Linked DNA regions of Homo sapiens: region 1 is linked to region 2. The links are contacts of gene promoters, found by promoter capture Hi-C in blood cells and fetal thymus (Javierre and others, 2016). All regions are on one chromosome and are shown on one strand. Each heading gives the region's core, a stretch centred on a gene start or on the middle of the fragment in contact. The rest is flanking DNA. Distances are from core to core; before and after follow the strand shown. Region 1 overlaps NEMF (nuclear export mediator factor). Region 2 holds the start of MAP4K5 (mitogen-activated protein kinase kinase kinase kinase 5).

What was found. Contacts are between HindIII fragments. The CHiCAGO score rates a contact against its expected background, and 5 or more counts as called.
Region 1: a contact is called between a fragment that was not itself captured here and the fragment with the promoter of MAP4K5 in region 2, in 2 of 17 cell types (naive CD8 T cells and total CD4 T cells). The highest score is 5.2, in naive CD8 T cells.

What each region holds. Positions count from the first base shown.
Region 1 is chr14:49,843,675-49,849,478 of GRCh38, forward strand. NEMF (nuclear export mediator factor) reads right to left here. Exons shown (of 33, transcript NM_004713.6): 4 at 2,466-2,591. Among named protein-coding and RNA genes, the nearest start is that of NEMF, 6.2 kb to the right of the region's middle. The HindIII fragment of the contact is 733 bases long and covers 1,932-2,664 here.
Region 2 is chr14:50,531,319-50,537,512 of GRCh38, forward strand. MAP4K5 (mitogen-activated protein kinase kinase kinase kinase 5) reads right to left here and starts at 1,251. Exons shown (of 33, transcript NM_006575.6): 1 at 1,130-1,251; 2 at 624-840. The coding sequence starts at 731. It also overlaps a transcript of ATL1 not described here. RefSeq lists a silencer at 945-1,574. The HindIII fragment of the contact is 11,447 bases long and covers 1-6,194 here.

The DNA.
Region 1 (5,804 bases), core at 1,048-3,547, 690 kb before region 2:
ATTGCTCCTAGGCTAGGAATCTGTATAGCATGTTACTGAATACTGTAGTCAACTGTAATACAATAGCAAGTATTTGTGTATCTAAGTACATCTAAATATAGAAAAAGTACAGTAAAAATATGGTATTACAACAACAGTTCCAGGCCGGGCGCAGTGGCTCATGCCTGTGATCCCAGCATTTTGGGAGGCCAAGGCGAGCAGATCACCTGAGGTCAGGAGTTTGAGAACAGTCTGGCCAATATGGTGAAACCCCATCTCTACTAAAAATACAAAAATTAGCTGGGCATGGTAGTACATGCCAGTAATACCAGCTACTCAGGAGGCTGAGGCACTAGGATTGCTTGAACCCGGGAGGCAGAGGTTGCAGTGAGCTGAGATCACACCCTTGCACTGCAGCCTGGGCAACAAAGTGAGACTCTGTATCAAAAAAAAAAAACCAAAACAAAACAAAAAAAAAACCGCAGTCCCCAGCCTTTGGCACCAGGGACCAGTTTCATGGAAGACAATTTTTCCATGGATGGGGGGTGCAGGGGTATGGTTTCCGGATGAAACTGTTCCACCTCAGATCATCAGGCATTAGATTCTCGCAAGAAGCATGCAACCTAGATCCCTTGCATGCACAGTTCACAATAGGGTTCACGCTCCTATAAGAATCTAATGCCACCACTGATCTGACAGGAGGCAGAGCTCAGGTGAGTAATGCTCACTCGCATACTGCTCACCTCCTGCCGTGTGGCCTGGTTCCACAGACCAGTTCCAGTCTGCGGCACAGGGGTTGAAGATCCCTGGTATAAAAGATTAAAAATGGAACACCTGTATAGGGCACTTACCATGAATGGAGCATGCAGGACTGAAAACTGCTCTGGGTGAGTGACAGTGAGTAAATGTGAAGGCCTGGGACATTACTGCATACTACTGTAGACTTGATAAATACTGCACACTTGGGCTACACTAAATTTGTTTTTTATTTTTTAATTTTTAAAAAAATTATGCTTACCTCAGACCAGATTAAATTTATGTATTTATTTATTTATATACATACACACGCACGCGCACGCGCGCGCACACACACACACACACACACACACACATATATTTTTTTTTTCCTTTTTGAGACTGAATCTCACTCTGTCACCTGAGCTGGAGTACAATGGCATGATCTCAGCTCACTGCAACCACTGCCTCCCAGGTTCAAGTGATTCTCCTGCCTCAGCCTCCCGAGTAGCTGGGACTACAGGCACGCACCACCACACCAGGCTAATTTTTGTATTTTTAGTAGAGATGCAGTTTTGCCACATTGGGCAGGCTGGTCTCAAACTCCTGACCTCAGGTGATCCACTCGCCTTGGCCTCCCAAAGTGCTGGGATTACAGGTGTGAGCCACCACACCTGGCCCAGATTAAGTTAGTTAGTTAGTTAGTTAGTTAGTTTATTTTTGAGACAAAGTCTTGCTCCGTTGCCCAGGCTGGAGCACAGTGACACAATCTGAGCTCACTGGAACCTCTGCCTCCCAGGTTCAAGTGATTCTCCTGCCTCAGCCTCCCGAGTAGCTGGGATTATAGGTGCCCGCCACCACGCCCAGCTAATTTTTGTATTTTTTAATAGAGACGGGGTTTTGCCATGTTGGCCAGGCTGGTCTTGAACTCCTGACCCCAGGTGATCTGACCCCAGGTGATCCGCCCTCCTCGGCCTCCCAAAATGCTAGGATTACAGGTGTGAGCCACTGTGCCCGGCCTGAGTCATTGCGCTCAGCCAAATTTATTTTTAAGATGTTTTTCTTTCTTCAATAATAAATTAACCTTTGCTTCCTGGAACTTTTTTACTTTATAAACTTTAAACTTTTTAGCTTTTTGACTCTTGTAATAACACTTAGCTTAAAACACATATCGTACAGCTGTACAATACTTTCTTTCTTTAGATCCATATTCTCTAAGCTTTTTTTCCATTTTAAATTGTTTTGTTTTTACTTTTAATGTTTTTGTTAAAAACTAACACACAAACTCACACACCAGCCTAGGCCTACACAGAGTCAGGATCAAGATGTCACTAAGCAGTAAGAATTTATTAGATCCATTACAATGTTACAGGACCAACGTTTATATGCAGTCTGTTGTTGACTGAAACATCACTATACATACAGCGCATCAGTGCATGACCGTATTTGACTATTTTCTGGTTGCATATTAGTCCTGAAATGTCAAGTACCAAATAATTTACTTCTCAGATCTTCATCTCCTACATTCATAAGGCTATTCTAAATGGCTAAAGTCTGCCTAAACTCAGACCTACAGATAAAATGAAGGTTATTACTGGAAAATTTTATTTTATTTGTGTGGCACCCATTTCCTAGGGTAGTAACAACCTTTGACACAGAAAAAAAATGTTCCCCCACTCATGTTATATAGCACTATTACAAAATGATTAATAAGAAATTTTCCTTCACCATATCCCACAAATTTAACTTACCCTATCATAGAGCTCAATGATTAAATGGTAAGCAGCTTCATCACTTCCAAATTGAAAATCTACAATTCTATCCACACCAAGCTGTTTTGCACTGACTAATCTCCGACTCTTCAAATGTTTTCGGCACTAGCAAGAGAAAGAAAAAGGCATTCATTTAGTAAAAGTGAATTCCTAACCATTTGGTATTGGTTTATAAATAAGCTTCTTTTCATTATCATCAGGAATATTTAAAACGTTGTGAATAACAGTATAGTCATAAAGTAATAGATTGCAGATGATAATCAGAGGGAAAACATTTTATTATAAACACTAACTCTGAAACAGTGTTTTATTTGCATTTTTTTAAGACAGGGTCTCACTCTGTCACCCAAACTGGAGCCCAGTGGTGTGATCATGGCTCGCTGCAGCCTCGACTTCCCTGGCTCAGGTGATCCTCCTGCATCAGCCTCCTGAGGATTGGGACCACAGGCACATGCCACTATCCCCAGCTAATTTTTTCATTATTTGTAGAGACAGGGTCTCACTATGTTGCCCAGGCTAATCTCAAACTCCTGGGCACAAGCAATCCTCCTGCCTTGGCCTCCCAAAGTGCTGGGATTACAAGCGTAAGCTACTGAGCCAGGCTTTTATTTTCAATTTTTAAGTAGAGAATGATGGACCTATAGCAAAATTTGCTTTGTTGCTTTATACCACTGCTAAATTCCTTGTTGTGGTCCTAATGACCTCACTCATAAGCCACAACCTTTATTTATTTACTTTATTTTGAGAGAGAGTCTCGCTCTGTCGCCCAGACTGGAATGCAGTGGCACAGTCTCAGCTCACTGCAACCTCCGCCTCCCAGGTTCAAGTGATTCTCCTGCCTCAGCCTCCTGAGTAGCTGAAATTACAGGCGTGTGCCACCACACCCGGCTAATTTTTCTATTTTTAGTAGAGACGGGGTTTCACCATGTTGGTCAGGCTGGTCTCGAAGTTCTGACCTCGTGATCCGCCCACCTCAGCCTCCCAAAGTGCTGGGATTACAGGCATGAGCCACTGTGCCCAGCCAACCTTTACTTATTTATTTATTTATTTATTTATTTGGAGACGGAGTCTCACTTTGTCACCCAGGCTGGAGTACAGTAGCACAATCTTGGCTCACTGCAACTTCTGCCTCCCAGGTTCAAGCAATCCTCCTGCCTCACCCTCCCAAGAGTAGCTGGGACTACAGGCGCCCACTACCACGCCTGGCTAATTTTTTGTATTTTAGTAGAGACGGGGTTTCTCCACGTTGCCCAGGCTGGTCTCGAACTCCTGAGCTCAGGCAATCTGCCCACCTCGGCCTCCCAAAGTGTTAGGATTACAGGCGTGAGCCACCACACCCAGTCCCTTTATTTTTTTTAAGTCTCTTTGATGACACTTCTAAGTATGCCAAATTTCCCTTTTGTATGCTTCATTTATGTTCAAAATTAATTAATTGTTTCCACTAATCTTCTACTTCTAATACATATCAACTATGGACCATGAGCTTATGGCTTATGGTATCCTGTAAATAGTCCACCACCTTATATCCAGTTACCCCTACCAATTCTTTTTTTTTTTTTTTTTTTTTTTTTTTTCTTTAAGAGAGTCTTTGCCAGGAGCGGTGGCTCAGGCCTGTAATCCCAACACTTTGGGAGGCCGAGGTAGGTGGATCACTTGAGGTCAGGAGTTCAAGACCAGCCTGGCCAATATGGTGAAACCCCATCTCTACTAAAAATACAAAAATTAGCTGGGCGTGCTGGCGCATGCCTGTAATCCCAGCTACTCAGGAGGCTGAGGCAAAAGAATCGCTTGAACCCAAGAGGCGGAGGTTACAGTGAGCCGAGATGACACTACTGCAATCCAGCCTGGGCAACAGAGCAAGACTCTGTCTCAAAAAAAAAAAAAAAAAAGAAAGGGACAGAGTCTCTCTGTTGCCCAGGCAAGGCTCAAACTCCTGGACTCAAGCAATCTCCCACCTTAGCCTCCCAAGTAGCTAGGATTACAAGTGCCCTGCCACTGTGCCCAGCTTATTCCTACAAACTTTACTAATATAACCCAAAGAGAATTTTCCTGGTATCGTCTCTAAGCTTTTGATAACCTATTTCAATCCAATGTAATAACTCTCATTCTTTATTAAATCCCCTTCCTCCTATCCCTGGCCATAAGGTTCTTTTTCTTATTAACAATTAAAATAATATTAGTATATCAAATCCAAATACAATTTACTTGGCAATACCTACTCTTTTAGATTACATGTACCGTCTTTTTGTACAAATATTGAAGTATGACATGGACTGGTAACAAGACTACTCTGTAGCCTCTAAAATATCTTACAATTGTTTCTAATTTTTTAATATAAAAGACCCTTTAGTTAAGACCAATAAGAAAGAATGCTTTCTTCAAGACTCAAATACGGTCTGGGTATGGCAGCTCACGCCTGTAATCCCAGCACTCTGGGAGGCCGAGGCAGGCGGATCACAACGTCAGGAGTTCAAGACCAGCCTGGCCAACATGGTGAAACCCCATCTCTACTAAAAATACAAAAATTAGCCAGGCATGGTGGCGTGTGCCTGTAATCCCAGCTACTTGGGAGGCTGAGACACGAGAATCACTTGAACCCAGGAGACTGAAGTTGCAGTGAGCCAAGACTGCGCCACTGCCCTCCAGCCTGGTGACAGAGCAAGACTCCGTCTCAAAAAAAAAAAAAAAAAAAAAGACTTAAATACGAAACAAATTTTACAGAAGTTAATCTAAGACCACCTTCAAAAAAAAGACAAAAAATCCACTCCTTGACAAAGGTTGAAAAAAAACAACAATAAACACATAAATTCATTATTAAAATTAATGCTAACATTTTCATAACTAAGAAGAGTTCTTCTCCAGACCTTATAGCCCAAATTGACTGAAATTCGCATTTTATATACTCACATAGGCAGAATAACTTCCTAGGATAAACAATCTGCTCCTCCTTAACTCAGTAGTTTTAAGAATGACCTATACTGATTTGATTAAACAGTAACCTACATGTAGGGCTATCTTTAAATCCCTAGAGGAAAATCACAATCAGTTCTTCCAGAGTCCCTGAGTAATAATTTTATTCAAGAAAAATAAAGACAAAAGGCATCATTGAAAGGACAGAAGTTCACACAAAGGAATAGTAAAAAGGGGATTATTTATCATGGAGAGTACAGATGGACACATAGTACATATTTAAAGCTTGTTTCATTTCCCTATCAACAGCTTGGTGAAATCAACCTGCTGCTGTGTGCCACAAAGCTATAGCTGTCATCCCCAAATGTGAATACTGGAACAACCACTGTGATTTATCACATAATAGAC
Region 2 (6,194 bases), core at 1-2,500:
AATCCCTGAAAGGAACCGCTAAAGTAAAACAAAACCCAGCAAGTTAATATCACATTTTTATCGCCAACCAAAAACAAACGATCAAACTTCCACCAGGAAAAGCATCTTTTTATATGGGATAATGCTTGCATAAATGTCACCAATATTAGTTTGCTTACAGTTAAAGCTCAGAGACAGGGTTTCATATGGCTTTTTTAGTCAAACTCATCCATTGAAACAAATTTTTTTAAAAAAATGCAAATGTCTGAATGTCAATATTCTTTCCTGTCTATCTTCCATGAAGCATTTTTCCATGCTAACACTAGAGCATCCTTCGGTGTAATTCCACAAGCAGATTCAAATTCCCTTCAATACCATAAATAAGCCCTATTAAAAAGCCTTTAAACCACAAAAAAAGTGCAACAGCGGTTTGCAACTGTGTGGTTAGTTCTGCCTGTTGGTAGCGATTAGAACAAGCCATGAGTCGAGGGTGCTCAGAACCGAGTAAAAGGGACCCCGGCCGCTTTCTCCCCAAGAGGCAACAATAAAAGCATCCTCCTCTCGCCCCAATACTTCGCAGGAAAGTGGCCCCATTCCCGGGACCCAGTCGACCGCAGGAAAAAAGCACGGCCAGCCTCACTTACCTTATAGACGTCCCCGTAGGTGCCGCTGCCGACCCTCTGGACGAGTTCGTAGTCCTGCTGCGGGTTCCGCCTCAGGATGTCCGCGGCAGGCCGCAGCGGGGCCTCCATCTTCACTTAGGGCCCGGCCCCCGCCAGCTCACCCCGCGGCTCCCGGATTCCCGCTAACAAGCACGAACGGCGCCGCTTCCCAACATGGAGCCTCCGCCCGCAGCTCCGTCTGCACGAGGGACGAGCAAAGGCTGGTTGGCGTCGCAGGCTACGACCCCCAGCGGCCCGCGCCCTCGCGGCCCGGCCCCTTCCCTTCCGTCCCGCCAGGGGCCGTGGAAGAGAAAGGGGCCTGGAAGGGCCCCCGGCGCCCCGTATCCCCGTTCGGTCTGCGGCCCTTCCCCCTCCCCGGCCGCCCGCGAACTGCCCGACGAGGCCTCCCCGCCAGCCGGGGCCCAGGGCCGGCTCCGTACCTAATGGGGGCGGCCCCGTCTTTGTTGAGCGCGGAGCCCGGGACCTACTTCCTAGACCGCACCCGCGTCCTCCTCCCGCGCGCCGGCCGGCAGCTCCGGGTTTGCCGTCGCCGCCGCCGCCACTCAGCCGCTGCACGGCGCGTCCTCTCGGGGGCGGCGGAGGCGCGTACAGTCGCCGCCGCCGCCGCCGCCGCACCACGTTCCCCACCCGGGGCTGCGTCACCGGGAGACACGTTCCCAGCCAGCATGGGTCGGCGCCCAGCGGCCCGCCCGAGCACTCCGGCCGCAGAACCAGAGTGCCGCCCTGAGGCCTGCTGAGAACACAACACCCTCCCGACCGCGCCACCGCGCCCCCCTAGCCGGGCGCGTCCTTGCAGGGCCTGGGCTGTCTCCCTCCCACTCTCAGAAATAAGGCACACGCCTGGGCATTCGTGGGCCAACGGGCCTTGGCTAAACCGTCCCCACATTTGTCAGGTAGGCCTGTAGGGTGACGGGTAGAGGAAGAAGGGCGATGGGAACGTAGCCCTCCAAGTTAAACACGGAAAAGGTACGTTAAGGGCACCGGGCCAGAAGTAACCTGGCAGCGGGGCGCCGGGGAAGGAGGTGGGGGAGTGCCAGGTTAACTAAGTCCCGGCACACCCTACTGCACCTTCCTGTTTTGCAAACCGATCCCGGTGGTACCAGTTTGAGGCTGCACTGCACACCTGCACAACCTGCCTTCTACTTAGTTCTTCTGAGACATTTCTGAAAGTCTGAATTCCTAGGACTGCTCAATGACCTTTGTCCCTGTTGGGCACACGCAGTGTCTCATCGCTGGTATTGCACCTTTAATGAGACCAGGAGTTCCGCAAAAGTAAAACAAAGGGGTCACAGACTGGTTCTGGTTCTACCACTTCCTCAGTATGTGCTCTGGGACAAAACAGCATATTTGGCAACATCTCGGTGTCCTTATCTGCAGCTTGAAGAGGGTAAGATTTTGCATCTGACACCCAGGAAAGTGTTTATAAAGCGTTTTACAGGATAGTAAGGGGGGTTATCGAATATAAGAGGTCTTAAAATACTTAACAATGCACAGCATATATGGAACAGGAGTTCGGGGAAGTAATTTGGCTGATATTTCACAAGCTGTTTTGCAGTTTCAGTTCCAGTCTTGCTCTGAAGGTAGAAATTAAGTTGCCAGTGTTACATTATACTGGCTAAGTTATTTCTAGAGCCTCATAGAGAATTTGAACAGAAAAGCCAGATAACACTCAGCCACTGCATTTAGTGACTGAAACATCATAAAAGAGCAAGTTGGAGATGTTGGCTTGTGGCTTTGAACATCCAATTTTTAATTCTGCTCTTGAGAATTAAAATACTCCTTATTGTTGATAATTGTATAATGTATAATAAGGAGTAATTGACAATACTCCTTATTGTTGATAATTGTATAATGTAGAAATTAAATTCGCACCTTAACAGGACAGGGCATATATGTATTTTCTTGTGCTCCACACACAAAGGGCACTTATTTGGGGAACATAAGTAAGCCCAGACTTACATGCTCCATGGACAAAGCCTATGTGTTTGCTGCATTGAAAAAATTGTTGAAGAACAGTTCCTTCTTTCAAAGATTCTTGGCACTTGTTTTGGTGGGCACATACTTTTGGCTTCGATGACTCAAAATCTCTTCAAATGTTCTATTGGTATCTTAGCACTTGTTTACTGTCATAGATTCATTTGAGATTTTTTTCCTCTGGCCATATAAGCACTGATCCTTTATCTAGTCTGAAATATATTTATTCTTACATGTTTACACTTGCGTTACTCCAGGGAATTTCAGGCAGCACACAGAAAACACTTACTATAAAACAAGATAAAAATAAGTGGGCAAACTAGTATGACGTTAAAGAGAAGGAAAATACGAAACCAGAACAGTGTGACAAATCGGCCAACCAGAGGATTTTATAGTGTTTTTGAGATCAAGAGTAACCAATTGATCAAGAAGAGGCATATATTTTCCTAATGCAAAGACTTCCAAAAATTTTATTTAATGAGCCTTCTTCATAAAGTAGAAACTGAATGCCCAGTTTGAGACGAGGACAAATATCCTGACAATCCTTTAAGCATGTTATTCTTGAAATACAGCATTTAAAATGAATTAGGCAGTGAAATGTTTGAGGTCATAGGCTTCAACAAGACCCTGGAGTGCGGATATTTTATGTTGCCAGTAATGGCAGATCCATATGCTTTGACCATCAACCTAGAGGCAGATAGCATGGAAAAAGTCAAGACTCTATGTGGTGGTTAAAAAGTCGAGACTCTATGTGTCTGCTATAATCATTATTTTACTTGTACTGCAATTCATGCAAAGAGGAAAACATTTGTTTTATACTAACTCCAAAAGAATCTTAAGGATTTTTAAAATACTGGTTGAGTTAATTTTAACAAGATCAGTGAAGTGGGTTGCTTTGTAAAGAAATGCAAATTCAATTTACTTAAATGTACACTGAGTAAATTTAATTTTACATCCTAGACAATTAAGCAAACAATTTCAAGGTTGAAGTTTATGTAATAATATGTTAGTTATGTCATGGTAACTGACCAGAGAGTTTCTTACAAACCACCCAGTTTCATATGACAAGGTATGGAATAAGAATAAATATGGCTTGATAGGTCCTTCATTCCAACCTAATTGTCATGCATTCTTAGTATCTTCATGCTGACACATAAATATTTTTCAGCTTTTACCCTTATCATTATAATATACGATAATGGTTTGCCACATGCTTTGTAATGTACTTCCCTTCTTTGAAAGTTCTTCAGTAAAATGCTGACTGTAATCTGTGGCCTCTAATTTCAGCTCTAACTTTAGCCAAGGCTGAATAAAAAAGAATTGGGAGACATAAAATGCTTTATCTTATATAAAGCTAAGGTTCACAATTTATTATCCAAGACAAAATGGCTAATTAAACCTTCAAGTGTGAAAGGACAGAGCATAAGGACAATAACTTTAGTCTATTGAACATACAGATTTAAGCAATCTGGTAATCTCCTGATTAATCTGCCAACATAAACTAATTTCAACATGTAACTCTATGATTCAGTTGACTGCTCTATAGATCTGTTAAACAGAAATCAATTAAATGTTGGAAGACATTGCCACAATTATGATTTGGATTTTTAAATAATTATTATTAAACTATTGTTTTACTAATTAGGGCCACTTGTCTTTTGAGGCATAAACCATGTTTTCCAAATATAGGGCAATTTTTATATAATTTGTTCTGGATGGCAATAGAACATGTATCTCATTCAGGATTAGTATCAGGTCATTAGGATGAGAGTTTTAAAAAGGAGAGGTGAGGAAGGCAGTCGATATCCCTTTCATCCAGTTTGAATTGATCATCAGATATGTTACTGATATGGTTTGTCTGTGTCCCCACCCAAATCTCATCTTGAATTCCCACGTGTTGTGGGAGGGACCAGGTAGGAGGTAATGAATCATGAGGGCAAGTCTTTCCCATGCTGTTTTCATGATAGTGAATAACTCTCACGAGACCTGATGGTTTTAAAAAGAGGAGTTCCCCTGCACAAGCTCCCTCTCTTTGCCTGCTGCCATCGTGTGAGACATGACTTGCTCTTCCTTGCCCTCTGCCATGATTGTGAGGCTTCGCAGCCACATGGAACTGTAAGTCCAATTAAACCTCTTTCTTTTGTAGATTGCCCGGTCTCAGGTTTGTCTTTATCAGCAGCATGAAAACAGACTAATACATTAAATTGAGGTCTGGCGCCATGGCCCATGCCTGTAATCCCAGCACTTTGGGAGGCCAAGGTGGGCGGATCATCTGAGGTCGGGAGTTTGAGACCAGCCTGACCAAAACCCCATCTCTGCTAAAACTACAAAATTAGCCAGGCATGGTGGTACATGCCTGTAATCCCAGCTACTTGGGAGGCTGAGGCAGGAGAATCGCTTGAACCCAGGAAGTAGAGGTTGTGGTGAGCCAAGATTGCACCATTGCACTCCAGCCTGGGCAACAAGAGCAAAACTCTGTCTCAAAAAAAAAAAAAAAAAAAAATTGTTACCAGTAGAGTGAGATGTTGCTGAAAAGTTACCTGAAAATATGGAAGCAACTTTGGAACTGGGTAACAGGCAGAGGTTGGAAGAGTTTGGAGAGCTCAGAAGAAGACAGGAAAATGTGGGAAAGTTTGGAACTTCCTAGAGGCTTGTTGAATGGCTTTGACAAAAATGCTAATAGTGATATAACAATAAAGTCCAGGCTGAGGTAGTCTCAAATGGAGATGAGGAACTTGTTGGAACTGGAGCAAAGGTGACTTTTGTTATGTTTTAGCAAAGACACTGGTGGCATTTTGCCCCTGCCCTAGAGGTTTGTGGAACTTTGAACTTGAGAGAGAAGATTTAGGGTATCTGGCAGAAGAAATTTCTAAGCAGCAAAGCATTCAAGAGGTGGCTAGGGTGTTGTTAAAAGCATTCAGTCTTATAAGGGAAGCACAGCATAAAAGTTTGGAAAATTTGCAGCCTGACAATACAATGGAAAAGAAAATCCCATTTTCTGAGGAAAAATTCAAGCAGGCTGCAGAAATTTGCATAAGTAACGAAAAGCTGAATATTAATTCCAAAGACAATGGGGAAAATGCCTTCAGGGCGTGTCAGAGGTCTTCATGGCAGACCTTCCCATCACAGGCCAGGAGACCTAGGAGGAAAAAGTGGTTTCGTTGGCTAGGCCCAGGGTCCCTGTGCTGTGTGCAGCCTAGAGACTTGGTGCCCTGCTTTCCAGCTGCTCCAGCTGCAGCTGAAAGGGGCCAACATAGAGCTGGGGCCGTGGCTTCAGAGGGTGCAAGCCTCCAGCCTTGGCAGCTTCCACGTGGTGTTGAGCCTTCTAGTACACAGAAGTCAAGAATTGAGGTTTGGGAATCTTTGCCTAGATTTCAGATGATGTATGGAAATGCCTGGATGTCCAGGCAGAAGTTTTCTGCAGGGGTAGTGCCCTCACGGAGAACCTCTGCTAGGGTGGTGCGAAAGGGAAATGTGGGGTCAGAGCCCCCAGACAGAGTTCCTACTGAGGTACTGCCTAGTGGAGCTGTGAGAAGAGGGCCACTGTCCTCCAGATCA